Linked DNA regions of Homo sapiens: all the other regions are linked to region 1. Evidence: promoter capture Hi-C in human tissues and cell types (Jung and others, 2019). All regions are on one chromosome and are shown on one strand. The core of a region is centred on a gene start or on the middle of the fragment in contact, and the rest is flanking DNA. Distances in the headings are between cores, read along the strand shown. Region 1 holds the start of DNAL1 (dynein axonemal light chain 1). Region 2 has its middle 6.4 kb from the start of PTGR2. Region 3 has its middle 11 kb from the start of NUMB. Region 4 overlaps ZNF410 (zinc finger protein 410).

Evidence for each region. The method cuts DNA at HindIII sites, captures the fragments that hold promoters and counts their contacts. A contact is called where the count stands out against the background at its distance.
Region 2: a fragment that was not itself captured here is called in contact with the fragment with the promoter of DNAL1 in region 1 in 1 of the 25 tissues and cell types used here (mesenchymal stem cells).
Region 3: a contact is called between a fragment that was not itself captured here and the fragment with the promoter of DNAL1 in region 1, in 2 of the 25 tissues and cell types used here (hippocampus and psoas muscle).
Region 4: a contact is called between a fragment that was not itself captured here and the fragment with the promoter of DNAL1 in region 1, in 7 of the 25 tissues and cell types used here (H1 embryonic stem cells, dorsolateral prefrontal cortex, hippocampus and 4 more).

Annotation. Positions count from the first base shown.
Region 1 is chr14:73,643,712-73,646,501 of GRCh38, reverse strand. It overlaps DNAL1 (dynein axonemal light chain 1), which reads right to left and starts at 1,516. Exons shown (of 8, transcript NM_031427.4): 1 at 1,460-1,516. The coding sequence starts at 1,462. The HindIII fragment of the contact is 10,054 bases long and covers 1-2,763 here.
Region 2 is chr14:73,844,069-73,846,797 of GRCh38, reverse strand. No RefSeq gene overlaps it. Among named protein-coding and RNA genes, the nearest start is that of PTGR2, 6.4 kb to the left of the region's middle. The HindIII fragment of the contact is 3,095 bases long and covers 1-2,729 here.
Region 3 is chr14:73,468,482-73,471,576 of GRCh38, reverse strand. No RefSeq gene overlaps it. Among named protein-coding and RNA genes, the nearest start is that of NUMB, 11 kb to the right of the region's middle. The HindIII fragment of the contact is 4,687 bases long and covers 1-3,095 here.
Region 4 is chr14:73,898,774-73,901,531 of GRCh38, reverse strand. All of the region lies in intron 5 of ZNF410 (zinc finger protein 410), which reads right to left. Among named protein-coding and RNA genes, the nearest start is that of ZNF410, 13 kb to the right of the region's middle. The HindIII fragment of the contact is 5,178 bases long and covers 1-2,758 here.

The sequences.
Region 1 (2,790 bases), core at 267-2,766:
GCCTCTGGGATTACAGGTGTGAGCCACCACACCCTGGCCGCTTTTCTATGTTTAAATACACAAATACCTTGTTTCAACTGCCTACAGTATTCAGTATAGTAAAATGCTGTAAAACTTTGTAGCCTAGGAGCAATAGCCTACACCATCTGGTTTTTGTAAGCATATTCTATGATGTTTGCAAGGCAAAACTGCCAATAATGTGTTTGTTAGAATGTATCCCTGTCATCATTAAGTGACTTATAACTGTACTGGTTCTGATTCTCTATTTGAAGATTTTCAACAATCACCATGGTTCATACTTTCATAAATATTTAGGTCTGAGCCTTTCTTCACCTGAATATAAACCTAGGTTCCAGAACTTTTAACTTTCCTTGGCAGTGATTTTCAGCTAACTGCTTGGGGAACAAAGTAAGGAAAGCAGGGGGGAAACTACTTTTTAAAGAGTGGTATTTCATCTTGTTGAGGGCAGGCATGACTTCCTCATCATTTCCATCTCCTGGGCTCAATTTCTGCCCACTTATATAGCACTGGAATCACAAAAAGAAGACAAGTAATTATGCTTCTTCTTCATAAACATCTCTATCCAGTAGGACATCACATACTTTGCTCAATAGCTCTGGCTGGGTCTGCAATCCTTTTCAAACGACTAGTTAGAACTACCAAGTATGTAAGCAAGAGAGTGAACACATCAAGTAAGAGTTGAGGAGCATCTCTAGGTAAAACCATTACTTCATAAAGAGCTCTCATTGGATAGACAGCTGGTAGATTTCAAACCTAAGGCAACAGCATTTCTCAGTGTGGTGGGATGCCCTCCAATTTTATAATCACTTGAGGTGTGTTGTCGAAATGCACATTCCTGAAACCCCCAATCATATTAAAAATTCACAATCTGCATTCCAACAAGCCCATACCTATGCATACTGAAATTTGAGAATCACTGCTCTAATATATCCATCAGAGTGTGCTTTACAGTGTCACCTAATAACTGCCCTCGTAGTCATTCAGAAGGCAACCTGGGTACATCACAGGTTACGAAAACTGCTGCAATCCGTGTTATACAGAACCCTCTGGTAACCAGCCCCTCCCTGCATCTCGACGGGGGGGTCACTAAAATTACTTCTATGTAAAGAGATATCTTTATCTACACTCTCCTTCCCATCACCCTTCCCACTCCAATACGCTCTTTTTAGAGAATTTCCTGCTCTTCGCCCTCCCTTTTCTCCTGTCTGAGTCCCTCCACCTTAACCCAACCTCCGATCCACCCCAGGCCGCCCTCACCACAGACCACCCCCGGCCAGGGCTTCTCTTTCGCCTCGGGCCCCTGACTCCACAGAGCTAGCGTCAGCTACCGGCTCCCTTCCGCTGTTCAAGGACCCCCAGACCCTCAACACTCCACAGTCACCCTTTTCCACTCCCAATCTTCTCTCAGCTTTGGCTACGCGGCCCGAAAGGTACTCACCATTCCGGCGGTTGCTACTGTCACTGCTCTGGTTGCTAGGGCCCGCGGGGTCAGTGCGCGTGCGCACTTCTCGGCGCTCTCGGCGGAAGCCCTATCCCCGGCAGCGGTCCTTTCTCTCCGCCCTCAGGGTGGTGCGAGCGGGGCATTGTGGGACTGCGTGGCGGCCGCCGGGGTCCTCCCGTCCGGCTGTTGCTGGCTGCCCTTTTGCTTCCTTAGGTCTTAACCCCGCACAGGAGTAGTCAGGACCGAAAGCAATTTCAGCTGATCTGTAGTGACTTGTCCGCCTAAAGTTAAAAACCTTAAAACGTCCCCCTAACAACTACCCTTTTCATAAAATAATGTTCTTAATTCCTTTGCCCTAACGATGGCGTTTCCCACCCTTTTCCGGACGAGGGGAGAATAAGCGGCTTGCTGTAATTTCCCTCTCCATCCCATCCCACTGAGAATACCAGAGCCAAACTCCACCCATTTTATGTTTCTTTACCCCGGATCCTCCAGGGAGCCAGAGGCAGCTGAAAGCTCGGTTCCACATTTTAAATATCACAAATTGTTGGTTTTAATCACCAGGGTGTCTTTTTTTCCCCACCTACCAAATGAGCTAAAAATTATTAACAATAATAATAATTCATAGAGTTGCTAGGGGTATGGTGAAGTAGGGACACACAAATACGCTGCTGTTTATAATTGATACAGCCTTTCTGGAAGGCTGTTGGCTGTTCAAAAACTTTTGCACCCTTTGTGATCCAGCAGTTCCACTTCCAGGACTTTATCCTGAGCACAGAGATGTATGTTCAAAGCTTTAATAGAAAAAAAAAAATCAACTCAATTATCAACAAAAGAGAATTGGTGGCCGGGACTGGTGGCTCACGCCTGTAATCCTAGCACTTTAGGAGGCTGAGGAGGGCGGACCACTTGACCACTTGAGCCCAGCCTGGCCAACATGGTGAAACCCCGTCTCTACTAAAAATACAAAAATTAGCCGGGTGTGGTGGCACGCGCCTGTAGTCCCAGCAATTCCGGAGCCTGAGGCACGAGAATTGCTTGAACCCGGGAGGCGGAGGTTGCAGTGAGCCGAGATCGCGCCATTGCACTCCAGTCTGGGCAACAAGAGTGACACTCCGTCTCAAAACAAACAAACAAACAAACAAAAAGAGAGAGAAAATTGGTTAGTAGTATTGAACATCCAATGCAATAATGTACTTACACTAAAAAAGTACAATTGACTTGCTGAAAGGCATCTATTCACATCCAAAGATAGTCATATTTCAAGTAAAAATAGAAGTTACCAAACAAAATAGTTGGTACGATTTTCCTTTAAAATTATACATAGT
Region 2 (2,729 bases), core at 202-2,701, 200 kb before region 1:
AGATTGGCTGTTGTATCGTTATCTATTGCTACAAACAAATTACCCCCAAAACTTAGTGGTTTAAAACAATGAACTTTTCCGTGGCTCACGCTTGTAATCCCAGCACTTTCTGGGGGCCAAAGTGGGTGGATCACGAGGTCAGGAGTTCGAGACCAGCCTGGCCAACACAGTGAAACCCCGTCTCTACTAAAAATACAAAAATTAGCTGGGTGTGGTGCCGGGCGCCTGTAATCCCAGCTACTCAGGAGGCTGAGGAAGGAGAATCACTTGAACCCAGGAGTCAGAGGTTGCAGTGAGCCAAGATTGTGCCACTGCACTCCAGCCTGGGTGACAGAGCTAGACTCCATCTCAAAAAACAAACAAACAAACAAACAAAAACTATGAACTTTTATTGTATTATCTCAGAGTTTTGAAGGATCAGGAAGCCATGCACAGTTTAGCTGGGTGATTCTGGCTCAAGGTCTCTGTAATCAAGCTGCCAGTCTGGGCTGGGCTGTGGTCTCATAAGAAGACTCAGCTGGGGAAGAATCCACTTCCAAGCTTGCTTTCTTTTCTTTCTTTTTTTTTTTTTTTTTTTTTTTGAGACAGTCTTGTTCTGTTGCCCAGGCTGGAGTGCAGTGGCACAGTCTCAGCTCACTCAAGCTATTCTCATGCCTCGGCCTCCCAAGTAGCTGGAATTACAGGCACATGCTACCATGCCTGGCTAATTTTCTTATTTTTAGTGGAGACAGGGTTTCGCCATGTTGGCCAGGCTGGTCTCAAACTCCTGGTCTCAAGTTACCTGCCCACCTTGGCCTCCCAAAGTGCTGGGATTATGCATGAGCCACCGCGCCTGGCATAGGATGTATTCTTAAATCGTATAAATATTGTATTTAAAAAACTGTAGTAATCAAGGCATTGTGCTGTTGATGCAAGGATAAATAGATCAATGGAAGAGAAGAGTCTTGAAATAAACCCTTCCTACATTATAGTTAATTGATTTTTTACAAAGGGGTCAAGACAACTCAGTAGCAAAATGATAATCTCAATAAATGATGCCGGCGCAATTGGATATCCATACACCAAAAAACAAAAGCAAAGCCCTGGAAAACAAAAACAACAAAAAGAAACTTGAATCTTTGCTCACACCAAATACAAAAATTAATTCAAAATGGATTATAAACCAAAACCTAAGAGGTAAAAATATAAAACTCAAAAAAAGACACCAAAAGCAGAAACCATAGAAGAAAATGTGATAAATTAGAATTTATCAAAATTTAAAATATAAAGTACCTTAAGAAAATGAAAGGGCCATGGGTGGTGGCTCACACCTGTAATCCCAACACTGGGAGGTCAAGGCGGGCAGATTGCTTGAGTTTAGGATTTCTGTACCAGCCTGGGCAACATAGGGAGACCTTGTCTCTACTGAAATTCAAGAAATAATTATTAATAGCTGGGTGTGGTGGTACAGGCCTGTAGTCCCAACTTACTCAGCAGGCTATGGTGGAAGGATCACTTGAGCCTGGGAGGTTGAGGCTGCAGTGAGCCTTGATCATACCACTACCCTCCAGCCCGGGCAACAGACTGTGACTCTCTCTCAAAACCAAAAAAAAAAAATGAAAATGAAAAGATAAGCCACAGACTGGAAGAAAATATTTGCAAATCATACATCTGATAAAAGGCTTATATTGAAAACACATAAAGAACTCATAACTCAATAGTATGAAGATAATTATGAGATATGGCTGCTGAATGTCTGAATAAGAAAACAAAAAAACAAGGATATATGAAGACAATCAACCGAATTAAAAAATGGTCCCAGGAGAGGCGGAGCTTGCAGTGCGCCGAGATCGTGCCACTGCACTCCAGCCTTGGCGACAGAGCAAGATTCCATCTCAAAAAAAAAAAAAAAAATGGTCCCAGGGGCTGGGTGCGGTGGCTCACACCTGTAATCCCAGCACTTTGGGAGGCTGAGGCAGGTGGATCACTTGAGGTAAGGAGTTCCAGACCAGCCTGGCCAACATGGTAAAACCCCCTCTCTACTACAGAAAAATACGAAAATTAGCTGGGCGTGGTGGTGCACACCTGCAGTCATAGCTACTGGGGAGGCTGAGCTAGGAGAATCACTTGAGCCCAGGAGGCAGAGGTTGCAGTGACCCAAGATCAGGCCACTGCCACTCCAGCCTGGGTGACAGAGTAAGACTCCATCTCAAAAAAAAATTTTTTTTAATGGTCCCAGTCCAGTGCGGTGTCTCACGCCTATAATCCTAGCACTTTGGGAGGTCAAGGTGGGAGGATCACTTGAGGTGAGGAGTTCAAGACCAGCCTGGGCAACATAAGATTCCTCTCTCTACAAAAAATGTTAAAAATTGGCCAGATGTGGTGGCACGTGATTGTAGTCCCAGCTACTGGGGAGGCTGAGACAGGAAGATCACTTGAGTCCAGGAGGTGGAGACTGCAGTGAGTGAGCTATAATTGTACCACTGCACTCCAGCCTGGGCAACAGAGGGAGACTCTGTCTCTCTAAAAATAAGTAAATAACTAAAGTAAATCTTAATGTAATTATGTAACTTTTGGACTTCAGTTAACAATAATGTGTCAATATTGGCTCATAAACTTTTTTTTTTTTTTTTTTTGAGATGGAGTCTCGCTCTGTCACCCAGGCTGGAGTGCAGTGGCGTGATCTTGGCTCACTGCAACCTCCGTCTCCTAGGCTCAAGTGATTCTCCTGCCTCAGCCTCCTGAGTAGC
Region 3 (3,095 bases), core at 160-2,659, 170 kb after region 1:
AAAAAAAAAATACAAAAATTAGCCAGGCATGATGGCACATGCCTGCAGTCCCAGCTACTCAGAGGCTGAGGTGGGAGGATCACTTGAGCTCAGGAGGCAGAGGTTACAGTGAGCCGAGATGGGGCCACTGCACTCCAGCGTGGGTGACAGAGCCAGACCCTGTCTCAAAATTAATTAATTAATTAAAATTTAAAAACACTGGGCCAGGCGCGGTGGCTCACGCCTGTAATCCTAGCACTTTGGGAGGCCGAGGCAGGTGGATTGCCTGAGATCAGAAGTTTGAGACCAGCCTGGGCAACATGGTGAAACCCCATCTCTACTAAAATACAAAAAATTAGCCGGGTGTGGTGGCAGATGCCTGTAGCCCCAGCTACTCGGGAGGCTGAGGCAAGAGAATTGCTTGAACCTGGGAGGCAGAAGTTGCAGTGAGCTGAGATCGCGCCACTGCACTCCAGCCTGTGACAGAGTGGGACTCTGTCTCCAAAAAAAAAAAAAAAAAATTTAAAACACTGAACACTTACTATGTGCAAGGTACTGTACCTGGTACTGGAAATTCAAAGATGAATATAGCATAGTTCTCATTCTCCAGATGTTCTTTTTTTTTTTTTCTTGAGACAGAGTTTCGATCTTGTTGCCCAGGCTGGAGTGCAATGGCGCAATCTTGGCTCACTGCAACCTCTGCCTCCTGGGTTCAAGCGATTCTCCTGCCTCAGCCTCCTGAGTAGCTAGGATTACAGGCATGCACCAGCACGCCCGGCTAATTTTGTATTTTTAGTAGAGACGGGGGTTTCCTCCATGTTGCTCAGGCCGGTCTTGAACTCCTGACCTCAGGATCTGCCTGCCTTGGCCTCCCAAAGTGCTGGGATTACTGGCGTGAGCCAACGTGCCCAGCCAGAAGTTCATTTTTAACCTTCACTTGTAGGTACATTTGAGAAGAAAAGGTAGGCACTTTTTTTATAGTTGTTCTTGGCCCCAGGGTAGCTCGGTCTTCGAAAGAACTTAAATGTTGTGTTCCTAAGAGGGTAGGATGACCCTTAGGTAGAGTTTTACACTGTATCCAGCCACTATGATAAAAGAATATTTTTGAGAGCTTATTAGGTAACTAAGAAGCTAGAGATCACATCTGGTCTGTTTTATCACTGCCTTATTTAATTATTTATATCCTCAGCAACAAACTATTGGCATTGGGTATGTAACTAATTTTTAATCAATAAATGTTTACTGAATAAACGAATTCCTAGTACTGTGTTAAACATTGTGCAAAAAGAGCCGTGACAGAAATATGTAAAGAAGCCTGCATCTGCCTAGGCGCGGCGGCTCATGCCTATAATCCCAGCAATATGGGAGCCTGAGGTGGGTGGATCACTTGAGGTCAGGAGTTCGAGACCAGCCTGGTCAATATGGGGAAACCCCATTTCTGCTAAAAGTACAAAAATTAGCTGGGCGTGGTGGTGCCTGCCTGTAATCTCAGCTACTCAGGAGGCTGAGGCAGGAAAATCGCTTGAACCCAGGAGGTGGAGACTGCAGTGAGCCGAGATCATGCCATTGCACTCCAGCCTGGGGAACAAAGAGAGATTCCATCTCAAAAAAAAAAAAAAAAGAGAAGAAAAGAAAAAAGAAGTCTGCATCTTATTCTTATAAGCAAATCTGAATATTTCCTTCCAAAAGTAGTACCTTGTTTTAAGTGCCTCCGCTGATTCATCCCTAAGGTGGGAAAGACTTAGAGATCTTGGAGAAGACTCTAAATGAGCCAGGGACCAGAGCATTATTATACTGCTTGATTTGATCTGTAGATTCAGGGTCTAATGACTGCTCTGGAGTTTGTTCTTATGTTGCAGGTATACAGCTGTATCTGTTTGAGTTGTCATTCATCAACCAAGCAGTTTGACAATTAGGACCGTAAGGATGACCAGGCTGGGTCAGACCTATCCAGCAGGTTAAAGGTTATTCAAGTTATTCAAGTAGTGGTCCTCAAACCTGGTTATAAATCAGAATCACCTGGGGGAGCTTTGCAACTATATACAGACCCCACTCCAACCTACTGAGTTGGAATACTAGGACCTAGGAGAGAGACATGAGACTTTCACATAGGACTAGGGTTGAAAATGAGTAGTTCAAGATCCATCCAGTTTTACTCATATATGGCTCTGCAATTCATAAATGTTGCCCTGATTTTTTTTCTGTATTCTGATTGTATTCCCTCCCTGGGTAATGAGTGCCATGCATTTACTACCTACAGTTTGGAGTAGTCTTCCTTTATATTGGTCCTAAGCTTAACTCTCCTGGAACTTTGTAAGAGACATTGAAACCTAAGATTTGGGGATTTGAGAGATGAGTTCATGTTGATCTTACGCATGCCACTTGTAATATTATAGGTTGAGCTCTCCCACAGAGCTTGCTTAGCAGTCACATGCCCATTCTTGAGATTTTTCTTATTTCACAAGGAGCTCTGGCTTTATCGAGATCCATTCTGCACCATCTAGACAACCTTTGTCCACTTCGTGCAATAGGAGAAAAATAATATCTGTTCCTCTGATGATTGTGACCCAGGATGATTGCAGCTTAGGTCATTCAGGACAGGTAAGCACTTATTGCCAGCTTAGATTAAAGTCCTGTTCTGAGTCTAGTTAGCCTGTTAGCTTTGGAGAGACCAGGAAGGGAAATATTCTTGCATTTAAGGGCTCAAACACAAATGTATTCATTTGGAATGATAATCTAGATGGTTCATAGAACAGAGACCAGAAGAGGGAGTCAAGTGGAAGTATTTGTGGTAAAGTATAGAAGGGAATAAATAGAGAAGGAAAATACTAGGGTCATGTGCCTATGTACCTGCCAAATAGAAAGAAAAAAGATCTGGTTTAAGCACATCACATTCCTTTAAAAAAAAAAAAAAAGGCTAAGTGTTTGGAGATGAAGAGCCACAATTGGGGTGATCATTTGGGAATCTCCAAGTATTCTTTGGTGAATTAATGTTTCTAAGTTGCCTTATGCACACGTGAAAGAGAGAAAGAGAGGAGAGAAAGGGAGAAGTGTCATCAGGTCATAGCCTGTAGATCATCACCCTAGGCAAGTTAGGCCTGGCTAGAATCAGTCTG
Region 4 (2,758 bases), core at 31-2,530, 260 kb before region 1:
GAATAAGGCAAGGCTAAGAAATCACTGAAACTCCTCCTGCTCAAGAATGAAGATTATCAATATATGGTCAAATAAATATAACGCAAATTTTTCCCTAAAAAAAAAAAAAAATCCCTCAGAAAAGAGTGTATTTGAGTTCTATCATGTTGGCCAGGCTGGTCTTGAACTCCTGACCTCCAGTGATCTGCCCACCTTGGCCTCCCAAAGTGCTGGGATTATAGGTGTGAACCACTGCGCCCGGCTGCCGTATGGTTTCTGTTACAACTACTCAGCTTTGCCATAGTAGCAGCCTTAGACAATTTGTAAGTAATGTGGATGCCTATGTTCCCATAAAACTTTAATTATAAAAACAGGTGGGGATTTGGCCCAAAGGCCTTTGCTGATCTGATATACAACATCTTATGCAAAATTAAAACGTTTCTGTATTTCAAACAACTTAGACTGTAAGTGAAGATAACATGCTCTGAAAAACTATGCTAGAGGACTCATAAAGTGACTTCAGTGTCAACAATGACAAAAATATTTATGTTAAAAATGCATTAAAATATTGAATAAAATCACTTCATTACATGTTAGTGCAAGGGTGTCCAATCTTTTGGCTTCCCTGAGCCACACTGAAAGAAGAAATGTCTTGGACCACACATAAAATATACTAATACTAATGACAGCTGGTGAGCTTTAAAAGCAAACAAACAAAAAAATCTCATAATGTTTTAAGAAAGTTTACGAATTTGTGTTGGGCTGCATTCAAAGGTATCCTGGGCCACACGTGCCCACAGGCCGTATGTTGGACAAGCTTGTGTTAGTGGGTGAAAGCAATATTGATATATTTCATATGATTTAAAATGTATATGTGGGACCACGCACGGTGGCTCACGCATGTAATCCCAGCACTGCGGGAGGCAGAGGCAGGCAGATCACCTTGGGTCAGGAGTTTGAGACCAGCCATGGCCAACACGGTGAAACCCTGTGTCTACTAGAAATACAAAAATTAGCTGGGCATGGTGGCATGCACATGTAGTCCCAGCTACTCGGGAGGCTGAGGCAGAGAATCACTTGAGCCCAGGAGGCAGAGTTTGCAGTGAGCCGAGATTGCGCCGCTGCACTCCAGCCTGGGCGACAGACTGAGACTCGGTCTCAAAAAAAAAAAAAAAATTAAAATGTGTATGTATAACCAAAATCATAAAGCTTCCAAATAGCAACCTATAATGTTAATTTTATCTACATGCTTAAAAGTTTACATAACTAAGTTAGAAAAAAATAAAAGGCTTTTAGGGTATTATCTTGTTGGAAAATAAAAGATTGTCTTATATTTGGGGTGATTTTTTTTTTTTTTGGGAGACCAAGTTTCGCTCTTGTTGCCCAGGCTGGAGTGCAGTGGTGCGATCTCCACTCACTGCAACCTCCACCTCCCGGGTTCAAGCAGTTCTGTCTCAGCCTTCCTGAGTAGCTGGGATTACATGCATGCGCCACCACGCCCAGCTAATTTTGTATTTTTAGTAGAGACGGGATTTCTCCACGTTGGTCAGGCTGGTCTCGAATTCCTGACCTCAGATGATCTGCCTGCCTCGGCCTCCCAAAGTGCAGGGATTACAGGCATGAGCCACAATGCCCAGCCTATTTGGGGTGATTTTATATTCAGGCATACAAAGTAGTTGTTAAGATAGTAAGGCAACATACTTTGAGAGTAAGAAAAACATCCACACAATGCTTTGCTGATTATAACATTTCCCAGATAGAATGTTACATAATCTCCATAACAAGCCAGTCAGGAAAGCTGCCTGATCTCTATGTTCAGATCGTAAGAAAATTGAAGCTAAGGGAGGTTAAACTGCCCAAGGCAGGGAACCAGTAAATGATGGTGCCAGGCCTGGATCCCAGGGCTCCCAGATTCTAAATTGCAAGCTCCCCTCCCTACGCTGCTTCTCATTGGCAAATATGACACTATTTCTTCAATGTAAGAGGAAATGCTGAAGGTTTCAGCATCTGGAGATTGGCACATATATCTCAGGAAGAATCTGAACTTTAAGGGTCCCACCAAAATGTTAAAATGAACCATTCTAAGTAGCACTATGGTAGTCATAAACAGAACTAAGTATTTTGAAAACAAACAGTTTAGAGTTTGGCTGGGGATGGTTGCTCACACCTAAAATCCCAGCACTTAGGGAGCCAGAGGCAGGAGGAGACCCTGAGTCCAGGAGTTTGAGACCTGTCTGGCAACAGAGCAAAACCTCATTCTCCATAAAAAGGGAAAAAAAAAGACCAAAAAAAAAAAAGATTTAATGTTTCAAAATATTCATAGGGAACTCTAGTTCTCTATGAGAAATTTTAACTTTTTATTTTCATTTGAATGGTAATCAAAAAATAATAATAAGCATATACTAGATAATCTGCATAAACTCCAAACAACTGTGTACTAAGTGCTTAAGCTTAGTTTGTGATAATGATAGCATTAAACCATGTTGTATTGAGTTGTGTCACATGTTAATGAGAAAACACAGAGGCAGACCTAAAAAAGTATCCATGACATGCTACATAAGCAAAGATTCTGCAGTGGTCTGAATAGAGCCGTGGTTCTCAAGCTTTAACATGTATCAGAACCAAGTTTTTGACTCAGTAGGTCTGGCATGGGCCTGAGAGTTTATATTTCTCAGTTCCCACGTGACGTCAATGATCCAGTGACAATGCTTTGAAAATTACTAGAACAGAGAAAAGTGACACAGAGTAAGTAGTATAGGCATGCTGAACTGAAAAGAAA